Regions from separate parts of the Homo sapiens genome. Here regions 1 and 2 are each linked to region 3. Evidence: promoter capture Hi-C in human tissues and cell types (Jung and others, 2019). All regions are on one chromosome and are shown on one strand. The core of a region is centred on a gene start or on the middle of the fragment in contact, and the rest is flanking DNA. Distances in the headings are between cores, read along the strand shown.

What was found. The method cuts DNA at HindIII sites, captures the fragments that hold promoters and counts their contacts. A contact is called where the count stands out against the background at its distance.
Region 1: a fragment that was not itself captured here is called in contact with the fragment with the promoter of PTX3 in region 3 in 2 of the 25 tissues and cell types used here (spleen and thymus).
Region 2: a fragment that was not itself captured here is called in contact with the fragment with the promoter of PTX3 in region 3 in 1 of the 25 tissues and cell types used here (IMR-90 fibroblasts).

What each region holds. Positions count from the first base shown.
Region 1 is chr3:157,179,957-157,183,731 of GRCh38, reverse strand. All of the region lies in intron 2 of LOC101928236 (a long non-coding RNA gene), which reads right to left. Among named protein-coding and RNA genes, the nearest start is that of CCNL1, 22 kb to the right of the region's middle. The HindIII fragment of the contact is 6,456 bases long and covers 1-3,775 here.
Region 2 is chr3:157,305,551-157,309,176 of GRCh38, reverse strand. All of the region lies in intron 11 of VEPH1 (ventricular zone expressed PH domain containing 1), which reads left to right. All of the region lies in intron 5 of LOC101928236 (a long non-coding RNA gene), which reads right to left. Among named protein-coding and RNA genes, the nearest start is that of PTX3, 130 kb to the left of the region's middle. The HindIII fragment of the contact is 8,313 bases long and covers 1-3,626 here.
Region 3 is chr3:157,434,735-157,438,304 of GRCh38, reverse strand. PTX3 (pentraxin 3) reads right to left here and starts at 1,455. Exons shown (of 3, transcript NM_002852.4): 1 at 1,242-1,455; 2 at 391-792. The coding sequence starts at 1,371. The region is part of intron 4 of VEPH1 (ventricular zone expressed PH domain containing 1); the gene reads left to right. The HindIII fragment of the contact is 4,814 bases long and covers 1-3,405 here.

The DNA of each region.
Region 1 (3,775 bases), core at 426-2,925, 250 kb after region 3:
GTTGCCACACAGAATTAAGAGTCCACTCAAGGTTGGGGTCATTTAGAGTGAGCCCAGGAAGCATGGTTGTGTGTCTTTCTGCAATTATATTATGCTGGGTGGGTTTAGTTGGGTGCTGAGATTATGCAAGGGAGTGATTATAATGACTGATCATGGAATTTAAACCAGGTAAAGAGAATAGTGAGAATATAATGTGGGGTGAAAAGAACTAGGAAGAGTGAGCTGCAAAGATTAGAAGTGGTAAAGAAAGACTGAGATGATGGCTTGGATGTGAGATAACACAGTTTAAAGTAGGTCCATGGAGTAGAGTGGCTGCTACAGAGAGAGAACAAAATTGTTGGAAAAGGAGAAGTCAAGAAACCATGAAACGTGGCTCCTGGAAGATCATCTACTTGGATGCTGAAATCAGGTGTCATTTCAGAGAATGGCAGTGAACCTGAAGGTAAAAATCTTCAAAAAACCAGGGAGAAGAACTCAGGAGGTTCATGAACAGAGCATGCCAATCTGCTAACGTGAGACTAAAAACTGGGGCAGGTAGGGTGGAGGGGGGAAAAATGGTCCAGAAGTGACCAGAAGGAGAAGGGAGGACTTCCACTTTGCTTCAGAGCGAGGGGTAGGAGGCCTGTGAACAGCTACACTAGAGAGGGCCACAAGGGAGCAGCATCCTCAGGACGAGCAGAGTTTCTATTACAGCAAAAAGAAGACTAGAAGGAATTTGCTTTGGATGACCAGGTTTAGCAATACTAAAGCATCAAAACATAACATCCAGTATGAGGGTGGTAGTGCATGCCCATAATGCCTTTCTGAGGCTGAGGGCAGAATCATGAAAGCCCAGGCTCATGCTTGCTCTCTCTCACTCTCTTTATATATATATGTGTGTGTGTGTGTGTGTGTGTATAAATATATAGGGTTTATGAATATATAAAATATATAGTTTATATATATAATATAGAGTATATGTCTATTTTATATATATAACCATATACAATGTCAAAGTCATGCTAACAAAATTGTGTATAATTCACTGTATTTTCTGAGGCAAAACATATTTAGTATCTAAACCTGTTACACAGTCACAACTCTTATTTTCCAAGCAGATTACGATAAACATTATATTCTATAGGAACATCTCCATACCCAAGATGATACCTGCTGATAAAAGGTTGAGAATCATGGCAGAGGAAGGTGATCCAGAATTGTCTCTGAGGTGGAACCAGATAAGATGCTGGAAAAGAGGGAGAGACCAGAGTAGAGAGACTCTCAAGGTTTGTTTTAGGGGATGGGGAGGATGAATATGCCAATGAAGGAGATGGGGAAGAGGACAAGAAGACATAAATGCTTCATTGAAATACAAGTTACATTTGAGATGCCTTTAGGCTAACAAGTTGGGCTGTCCAGGAGCCGTTGGAAAAAGGAATCTAGAATTCATACAGTAGTGAGGCAGGAGAGACAGATTTAGAAGTCATCATATAGGCATGTGGAAGCTGAAATAGATGAGTGGGTGAAACTTCTCAGTCTTTGGTTCCAGAGGTGATGGAACAGCAGCTCACCTGGCAGTAGCCAGCCCATGCTAACTACTAAAAAAAATCTCATAATGTATTGTCTATTTTGAGTCAAAATACATTTATTTTATTATTTTTTTTTTTTGAGACAGAGTTTTGCTCTTGTTGTCCAGGCTGGAGCGCAATGGCGTGATCTCAGCTCAAGGCAACCTCAGCCTCCTGGGTTCAAGAGATTCTCCTGCCTCAGCCTCCCAAGTAGCTGGGATTACAGGCATGCACCACCACGTCTGGCTAATTTTGTTGTAATTTTAGTAGAGACAGGGTTTCTTCATGTTGGTCAGGCTGGTCTCGAACTCTCAACCTCAGGTGATCCACCTGCTTCGGCCTCCCAAAGTGCTGGAATTACAGGCATGAGCCACTGTGCCTGGCCCAAAACACATTTAATATCTACTCCTGTAATAGGTGTGAGCAAGTTTTTGGACATTGAGGCAGATTGGAGGTTACCATGCTCAGCCATATTGGATCTTATGGCAAAAAAAAAAAAAAATCAGTGACACTGATCCTGTCTGTATTGTTCAATAGTGCCTCCAAAACATTCATGTCCACCCAGAGCCTCAGAATGTGATCTTATTTGGAAACAGGGTCTTTGCAAATATAATTATTTAAAATGAGGTCATATTGGATTAGAATGGGCCCTAAGTCCAGTGACTGGTGTCCTCAAAAGAAAAGGAGAGGACACAGAGACACATAGGGAAGAACTCATGACGATGAAGGCGAAGATGAGTGGAGACAAGCCAACAAACACCAGGGATTGCAGGCAATGACCCGAAGCTAGCAGAGAGGCATGAGGTTTCCTCCTGAGAGCCCCTGGCCTCCAGAACTGACAGAAAAGAAATGTATGTTCTTTTAAGCCACCCAGTTTTTGGTACTTTGTTACAGCAGCCCTTGGAAAATAATGTACTGTCTTTATCTAAAACTTTGATATTTGATTATAGATTGCTTGGCATTAGATTTAACTTTCTTTAATATCACATGAAAATATTTATTTGGATTACTGAGTTTTTTGGCGTAGCCTTAAATTTTACAGCTGAAGCAAGTGCCTCACTCACCTCATCCTAGTCCTGGCCCTGGGAATGTTTTAATTACTTTTATTAAGATATCAACAGGCAAGTTTCCTCTCAGTCTATTTCCAGACATAGATATATATCCAAATAATAAAGAGTAAAAGCAAGCATGATTTCTAAATAAAAGGGCTTTCAACAGGGATTAATTACATGTTCTCCCTCACTGAAGAAACACAACGCATCTCAGAAGGGATACAGATACTGGCATACCTTGTTTAAAAACAGCAGCCACAGTCTGTTAATTCTATCTGCTTCCCATGAGAAAGAAAAATCATCCCATGGCAGTTTAATTGGCCTTCACCCACATGTAGGGGGTTTATGAACATGTAGTCCCTTTGGGAAAATATCTAAAGAAAAATTCTTCAGAGTTGAATATGACTATGAGAGGGCTGGATAAAGTAAGTAGCAGTTTTTAAACAGGGTCCTAACTTTTTTTATACTCTTCATGGAGAGGTGGAGGAGGAAGTGTCTATGGCCACACCTCTTGACTATGGGCAGGCTTGTGACTGTTTCAACCAACAGACCACTGTGGACATGATAATGAAGCTTGGCAATCCAGCCTTGTGCACTAGAACACTCATGCTTGGAACCCTGAACCACCTGGTAAAAAGTCTGACTACCCTGAGATCACTAGCTGTAAGGAAACCAAATCACATAAGGCAGCCAGGTGTGAGTGTTCCCATCAGCAATTCTAGTCTTTAAGCCAGCCCGGCTTAAGAGATGAGACCTGACACCACAAGAAGCAGGGATTATTCCTTCCGTGTCTGATGTGAATTTCCCCAAAATTCATGAACATAAGAAATGGTTGTTTCAAGATGCTTAATTTGGGCCAATTTGCTATGTAGCAATAGTAACTGCAACAGAGTATGAGAGTCAAAGATATTTGTATCAATATGAATTGAGATTAATTATCCAAAATATTTCAATCATCTACAGAATAGATGTTTGAAAGTTCACAATACTCTGGAATAAAATATTTTCTACATAATGTAAAGCAAAGCATTATTTGCAAACATGTAAATACATGTTGTCCCATGAGAGGTTTTCCATTATAACTTCAGAGTAATTAAACATACAAAGACCAATCCCTTGCTAATCTTTCTGTTCAAATTGCTTAATTATGAGAGCTTCTGTGTTCATTGTAAGACA
Region 2 (3,626 bases), core at 824-3,323, 130 kb after region 3:
TCTTGTCTCCTTGTTTGTTACAGAATCCAGGATATCTAAAGAGCATGCCTGGCTCATACTAGGCATTAATAATAATAATAATAATAACAACAACAACAAATAGAACACAAGACAGAAATAAGGAGTATACTATTTGAAATAAGAAGATAAATTCAACATTACTTTTAGTTAATATGAAAATACAAGGAACACTATTAGAATTAATAATAATAATTAACTTTACTGGTCATTTAGAATGTGCCACTAATTGTCCTGTTCATTTAACATCAATTAGTTCACTTAATCCCAATGACAACACTATGAGATAGACAGCATTATTATTATCATCTTACAAATGAGTAAACTAAGTAGAAGAAAGATTAATTTTCTCAAAGTCACAGAGCAATGGAGAGAAATACACTTGAATGAACAGTGATATTACCACGTTCCTGATTGGAAATAGCAAATATGACAAAAATGTTAATACTTCCTAAGTTAATTAGCACTTTAACTGAGTTCCAATTTAAATTCTAAGAGAATTATTTTTTATCTCTTATGAAGTGATGGTAAAATACAGCCAGAAGGATAAATAGGTGAGACTAGTTTGAAAATTTTTGAGAGGGGCAAAAAAAAGGACATTCCAAAACATTTAAGCACACTATAAAACCTACAATTATTAAATTACTCCACTTTTATGGAAAGAATTAATGCAGATAAATGGAACAGACTAGTCCAGAAACCAACTCAAATATATACATATAATCAGTTAATGTATATATACAATTGTTTAGCTACGTATGAAACGAATCCTTTTTAAAAAGCCTACATAAAAGAGAATGATATCAAAACCCTAGAGCTAATTTTGTACATACAGAAAAAATGTAAAGGTGTTTGCTATAATTAGAAATTAAACAAGGATACCTGTCATCACCTTCAAAATTTAGCATTTTACAGTGATCCTACCCAATGCAGGGAGACAAAAGCAGTTAAGTATAAGGATTAAAAGAATAAACCAGAAAGAGAAAGAGATAGAGATGAGAGGGAGGATGAGGGAAAGAGAAATTATTTATAGACAATAAGATTATTTGTGTGGAAAGTTCAAAAGAATCTAACCTTTAGAACTTATATAAAAGATCCATAAAGTTATTTGATATAAGATCAACATATAAAATCAATAACAAATCTATACGTGAGTAATAACTAAATAGAAAATGTAGAAAAGCATGCCATCTATAATAGCAGTAAAGACTATAAAGGACCTAGGAATAAATATAAGAAAAGCTGTGAAACTCTTTAATGATAAAAAATTTTTTAATATTAATGAAAAAAATTTTAAAGACCTGAATTAATGAAAAGATATGATCTTTTCATGGTCAAGAACAACCATTATCATATAAATGAAAATTTTCTCCCAAATTAAAATGTAATTACAATTTCATAACCAATCCTAATGACAACAGACTTTTCTCATGGAGTTTGACAAACTGGTCCTAAATTTAGAATAAACAAAATCCTAAGAAAGACTGTGGGGGAGGAAATTTTTATGGTACAGAAAGAGAAAACTCATGTGATTATTTCCACAGGGATAAATTAATGGTAAATAATAAAGAGCCCAGAAACAGTCCCAATCATATATGAAAGCTTGGTAGGTGATAGAAGGGGGATTACAAATCAGCGAAGAGAAAGTAAAATATGTTTTAAATAATGTAAGGACATGTAACTTTTCCAAGCTGAAAAGATAAAAGTAGATCCTTCACAGACACCATATAGATCAATTAACTCCACATAAATTAAAGGCTTAAATGTAATCAATGAAATCTTATAACAATTAGAAGAAAATATCGAAAGTTATCTTTATAGCTCCAGGATAAGAAAAATGTGACAATACAAGTCTTGGCAAAGATGTGAAAAAGTGGGAATGTTCACACACTCTTGATGGAAGGAAAATAGGTATACCTGTTTAGAAAAAAGAACACTTAAGAACATATATATATATATAGTCATTAATTAGACTCAAAAATGACAGCTAGATTACTGTTAAGATGGGTGAGTAACTTTATTTCTGAAGTCTTAATTCCATTTAAAGCTGATCATAAAAATGCTTAAATACAAGAAGGTTTTTGTATTACAGTATATAAAATGTGCTAATACTACTCAGCTATTAAAAAGAACAAAATAATGTCTTTTGCAGCAACTTGGCTGGAGCAGGAGGCCATTATTCTAAGTGAAGTAAGTCAGAAATAAAAAACCAAATACTGTATTTTCTCACTTGTAAGTGGGAGCTAAGCTATGAGTATGTAAAGGCGTACAGAGTGGTATAATGGATATTGGAGACTTGGAAGCTAAAAAACTACATATTGGGTACAGTGTACATTATTTAGATGAAGGGTGCACTAAAATCTCAGACTTCATTCATCCATGTAACCAAAACCCACAAATTTTCATTTTCAGACTTCTTAAAGAGCAATCTGCTCTTTATAATATAATCAGTGGTTATATTATAATTTCATGTGCCCTATTTTTCTGCAGTTCTATTTCTAGATGAACTCTTACATATGTGCATCAGAAAACATGTACAGAAATACTAACTGAAGCATTTTTTGCAGCAAAAAATCAGGAGCAACCCAAATGTCCCTTGATAGAGGAATGTGGAAAAAAAACGTTGTGGTATAGTCATGTTATACAGGCAGGTAAAGTGAATTAATTAGACCTATATGTAATAGCATGGGATAAATCTTGAAAATATGATATTGAGTTTTAATAAGCAAGTTGCAAAACTATGATATGAATACTATGATAGCATAAATGTTATTGTATAAATTTTTAAAACACACCAAGCAGTGTTATGCATTATTTATACATACATATACTTATGATAAAAATACACTATATTTAGAATTATACAAAATTCATGATGAGGTTGCCTTTGGGTAAGGAGAAAGTGAGGAAAGGAAGGAGGAAAATGTTACCGGGGAAGGGAATTAAGGAGATCTCAATTTCATCTGTAATTTTATTGTTAAATAACCAGAAGCAAAATATTAGCATTTGTTAAGTCTGGCTGGCAGGTACATGGGTATTTGTTAAAGTGTCTTTTGTAGATGCTTTTCTGTCTTTGTTTTTTAAATTTAATTTAACCTGTAACTAATGTCAAAGAGTAAAGAATTGGTAGGTTTGACTACATAAAATATAAAGTCTGTAAAGAGCAAAACCTTTTATGCACAATAATTTTAAATGAAAATATTTGTAACAAGCATGAAAAACAAAGTTTAATATCCTTAAGCTACTACTATAAGTTCATGAAAATCAATAATCAATGAACGAAGAACATGAGCAAATACTTAGGAGACTGAGTCCGTAAAAGATATTCAGCCTTATTAGTAGGCAAAGTAGTCAAAGTTAAAATAAGTTACCCTTTTTAACACATTTTTTAAAATACAATAATCAGTGCTGGCTTGAGCAAGAGTTAAGGCACTCACACGTTTCTAAGTTGAAGTGTAAATTATTTCAACATTTCTAAAAAGCAATTTAGCAATGCAGTTCAAGAGTCTTAAAAATATTCATATCCTTTCACACAGTGATTCCACTTCTAAGAATCTGTTCTAAAGAAGTAATCTGAAACATGTACAAAACTTAAGATAAACAAACAC
Region 3 (3,570 bases), core at 206-2,705:
ACGGAGGGAAGCTGGGCGGCAAGAGGGATCACGGTTATAACGGGCCAGTGGACTCCTGCAGCGCTTAGTCGGATCGGGTGTAAGGGGCCCTAGACGTCTATTTCAAGACTGTGATGGTTACCTCCACAACTCTCTTTAGGGCTCCTTAGGACTGAGGAATACTTTTTTAAAGCCAATTTTCCCGCCTTGTATGGTGTGCCTGAGCTCTGTGACCGCGCATGCAGAAATAGGGGTGTGTGTGTGTGTGTGTGTGTGTGTGTGTGTGTGCGCGCGCGCGCGCGCGCTTCCCATGAAAGCTTCCCCTAGAAGGTTGCCTGGCTTGGCTTGCCGTTACGCGCGCTCCCGGAACAAAGCCGCAGTGGGAGGTCCCGGCCCCGCTTGCCTCCTTACCTGCCGGCAGCCAGCTCCGGGCAGCCCAGCCCTGCACCGCGTGCAGGTCGGCTCGCGTCTGCCGCAGCTCCTCTAGCACCGCGGCCAGGGCGCGCCCCGCCTCCTCTGGGCGCTGCGCCTCCGCGCCCTCCATACGCGCCAGCCTGCGGCCCGCGTCGCGGGTCGCCTGCAGCAGCTCGTCCAGAGCACTGGTCAGCCTGGCCTCTGCGGGAGCCCCCGGCGCGCACGGCCTCGCCAGGCTTTCCGCGAGCCGGCCCAGCTCCTCCCGCAGCCTCTGCAGCTCGCCCCGCAGGACGTCGTCCGTGGCTTGCAGCAGCATGCGCTCTCTCATCTGCGAGTTCTCCAGCATGATGAAGAGCTTGTCCCATTCCGAGTGCTCCTGACCGCAGGCGCACGGCGTGGCTAGAGTACGGGATACACACACGTTAGCAGCCCGCCCAGGCCTGCCTTGGATGTGCTTTGTAAAAGCTGACCTCCCTCGGTGGTGCCAAGTTGCAGCCCGTTCCTGGCATTCCCCTTCCCTTTAAGGACACCTCCGAAAAACAGCATGTAAATGTCTCAGAAACGACAGAAATCATTCATTCAGGTATAGATTAAGTTGTACCCTATGAAATCGCCGGTTATGTAGCTCAAAACAGTCAAATATTGACGATTTGATATGATTCAACCCATTATGTACGTTACAGAAATAACTTTGAAACCTCCATCTTTCTTCAAGTGCTTCTCACTTTTGCATAACAAGCTATAAATTTTTAACTTGTCTCACTGGCCACAAAGTATATGTGTGTTATTTAGACCAAGAGGTGGATATGTAGTCAGGGTTAGCAGAGAAACAGTTAAAGTGAACTTACGGTCCTCAGTGGGATGGAGTCCATTGTCTATTTCGTTGTCCAAATTCACATACATGAGATCATAATCATCCGAGTTCTCGGCCAACACTGCAGACCAGAGAGCACAAAACAGAATCGCAAGGAGATGCATTGCTGGAGAGACGCAAAGTTCTTTCCACAGCTGGCGGGAGGAGACTCTCAAGTGAGCTGAGTTTGAGCGGAGGAGAGTGAGAGTGAGAGGCTGGAGCAGAGAGTCCTTAATAAATGCTGAGGAAAGCCTGAATGGGGATGAATGAGTAATGCTGGTGGCACTGCGGTAACGGGAGTTCCCCTGAATTTGGTGGGGGAGGGGGCTGGGTGGGAGAGCGAGGGAAATGTGGAAGTTGCACAATATTAAACCGCAAAGGTTTACGCTGCAGTCAGATTAATTGGAGGAGGGTCAGAGGGGAAAGAGGAGAGAAACTGGGCTTCTACTGTTCTCCTGAGAATTAGCTGTTGTAATTTGAATTGATAGCAATGGGGATGAAGGAGGGGTGGTAGGGGAGAAATTTCAGAGGGTACTGAAGCAAATCATCATTTCAGCATTTTCTGTGAGCTGTTATTATTTCACAACCCTTTATATATAGAAAACTTTCCATGTTTCCTTTGTACACTGTTTTACAGGTTGAAACTGAAAATGGTCTGATTCCAAGATAAACCAACATATTAAGAATAGTTATGGCTCTGAAAGTCAAGTCCAATCCGAGCTATCTTGTCTTTAATACTTGAGGAGTTGCACCTATACTTTTATAGATAATTTTTTTTTTTGAGACTGAATTTCGCTCTTGTTGCCCAGGCTGGAGTGCAATGGTGTGATCTCGGCTCACTGCAACCTCCGCATCCTGGGTTCAAGCGATTCTCCTACCTCAGCTTCCCAAGTAGCTGGAATTACAGGCACCCGCCACCACACCCAGTTAATTTTTGTATTTTTAGTAGAGACAGGGTTTCACCATGTTAGCCAGGCTGGTCTCGAACTCCTGACCTCAGGCGATCCACCCGCCTTCGCCTCCCAAATTGCTAGGATTACAGACGTGAGCCACCTCACCCGGCCTATGACAAACAACACAGTACAACTGGGTAAACCTAGAATGGGGAAAAAAAGCTGGGGGAAAAAAGGAATATACTTATTTAGTTATTTAGGTATGTTTCTTTTCATAACTTGGTATTATGTGGACATTATATTATTCTACAAGGTTTCGAGGCAAGGATCATGTTTTAAAAGTAAACTTAGAGATTTCTGCTTCTAACAATATATACAGGTCTGTGTTCACATGATATTAATAAAAACTTAAAAGGTACAGATGAGCTCCCATTAAAGTAAGGGGAAAATCCCGGAGCCAAAGATAGAGAGGAAAGCAAAAACAACAATCCCATGAGCTGATGCTAGGGCCCCTCTGGCATAGGAGTGAAGTGAGATAGGGGTTATTAGTTCTATAACCACCAAATGTTGATGACCATGTGGAAGCAAAGCTTAGGCCAAAGGTGGAGAGTTAGAAGGGAGATCCTCATGAAAGCCAGGACCCTCACAGGGTTACCTACTGTATTTCAGTAGGTACAATCCCACTCTGCCCTAGCACAAAGAGGTAGGAAGCAATCATGTCTCTCTTTGAACTCTACAAGGTCCCTTTGAGTTTGTGAAATTGGGCCTGCCCTCAGATATGTTTAGAATTCAAATATATACTATCTGCCACTGTGAAAACAAAAAAGAATTCACAATGATATTTGAACATATGAGGAAGCAAACCACTATAAATGAGAATCAGCAGAAACCAAAAAGGATTAGACACCTCTCCCCAAGAACTGCATTTAGTTGAAATATCAGCCAAAAAACTAGAAAATAAATATGTTTAAAACTACTGAAGCTCTAAAAGAAGGAATTGGAAATATGAGAAAAGAATAAGACATTGTCAAAAAGAAAAAGGCTAGGTGATTTTTTTTAAAGAACCAAATAAAACTTCTAGAATTAAAAAAAAAAGTTAATTGAAAATTTTAAAAGCTCAAGGCATGGATTAAGTGGCAAATTAGGCAAAGCTGAAAAGAATATTAATGAACTGGAAGACAGATATAAGGAAATAATCTAAAATGTGCTGCTTTTATGTTCAGTAATAGGATTCTAAAATCATTTCATTGTTCAGGAGGACGAAAAAGAAATTAATTAATTTTGCTTTGCTCAAAAATATTTGTTATAAGTTTAAGGACAACTACCAAATGGACATAGGCATCCGAATAGAAGGTGCAGGGGGAATTTTTAAAGAAAGACTTGATCTATGAAAAAAAAATTAATGAAGGAGGAAAGAAAAGCACAGAGAAG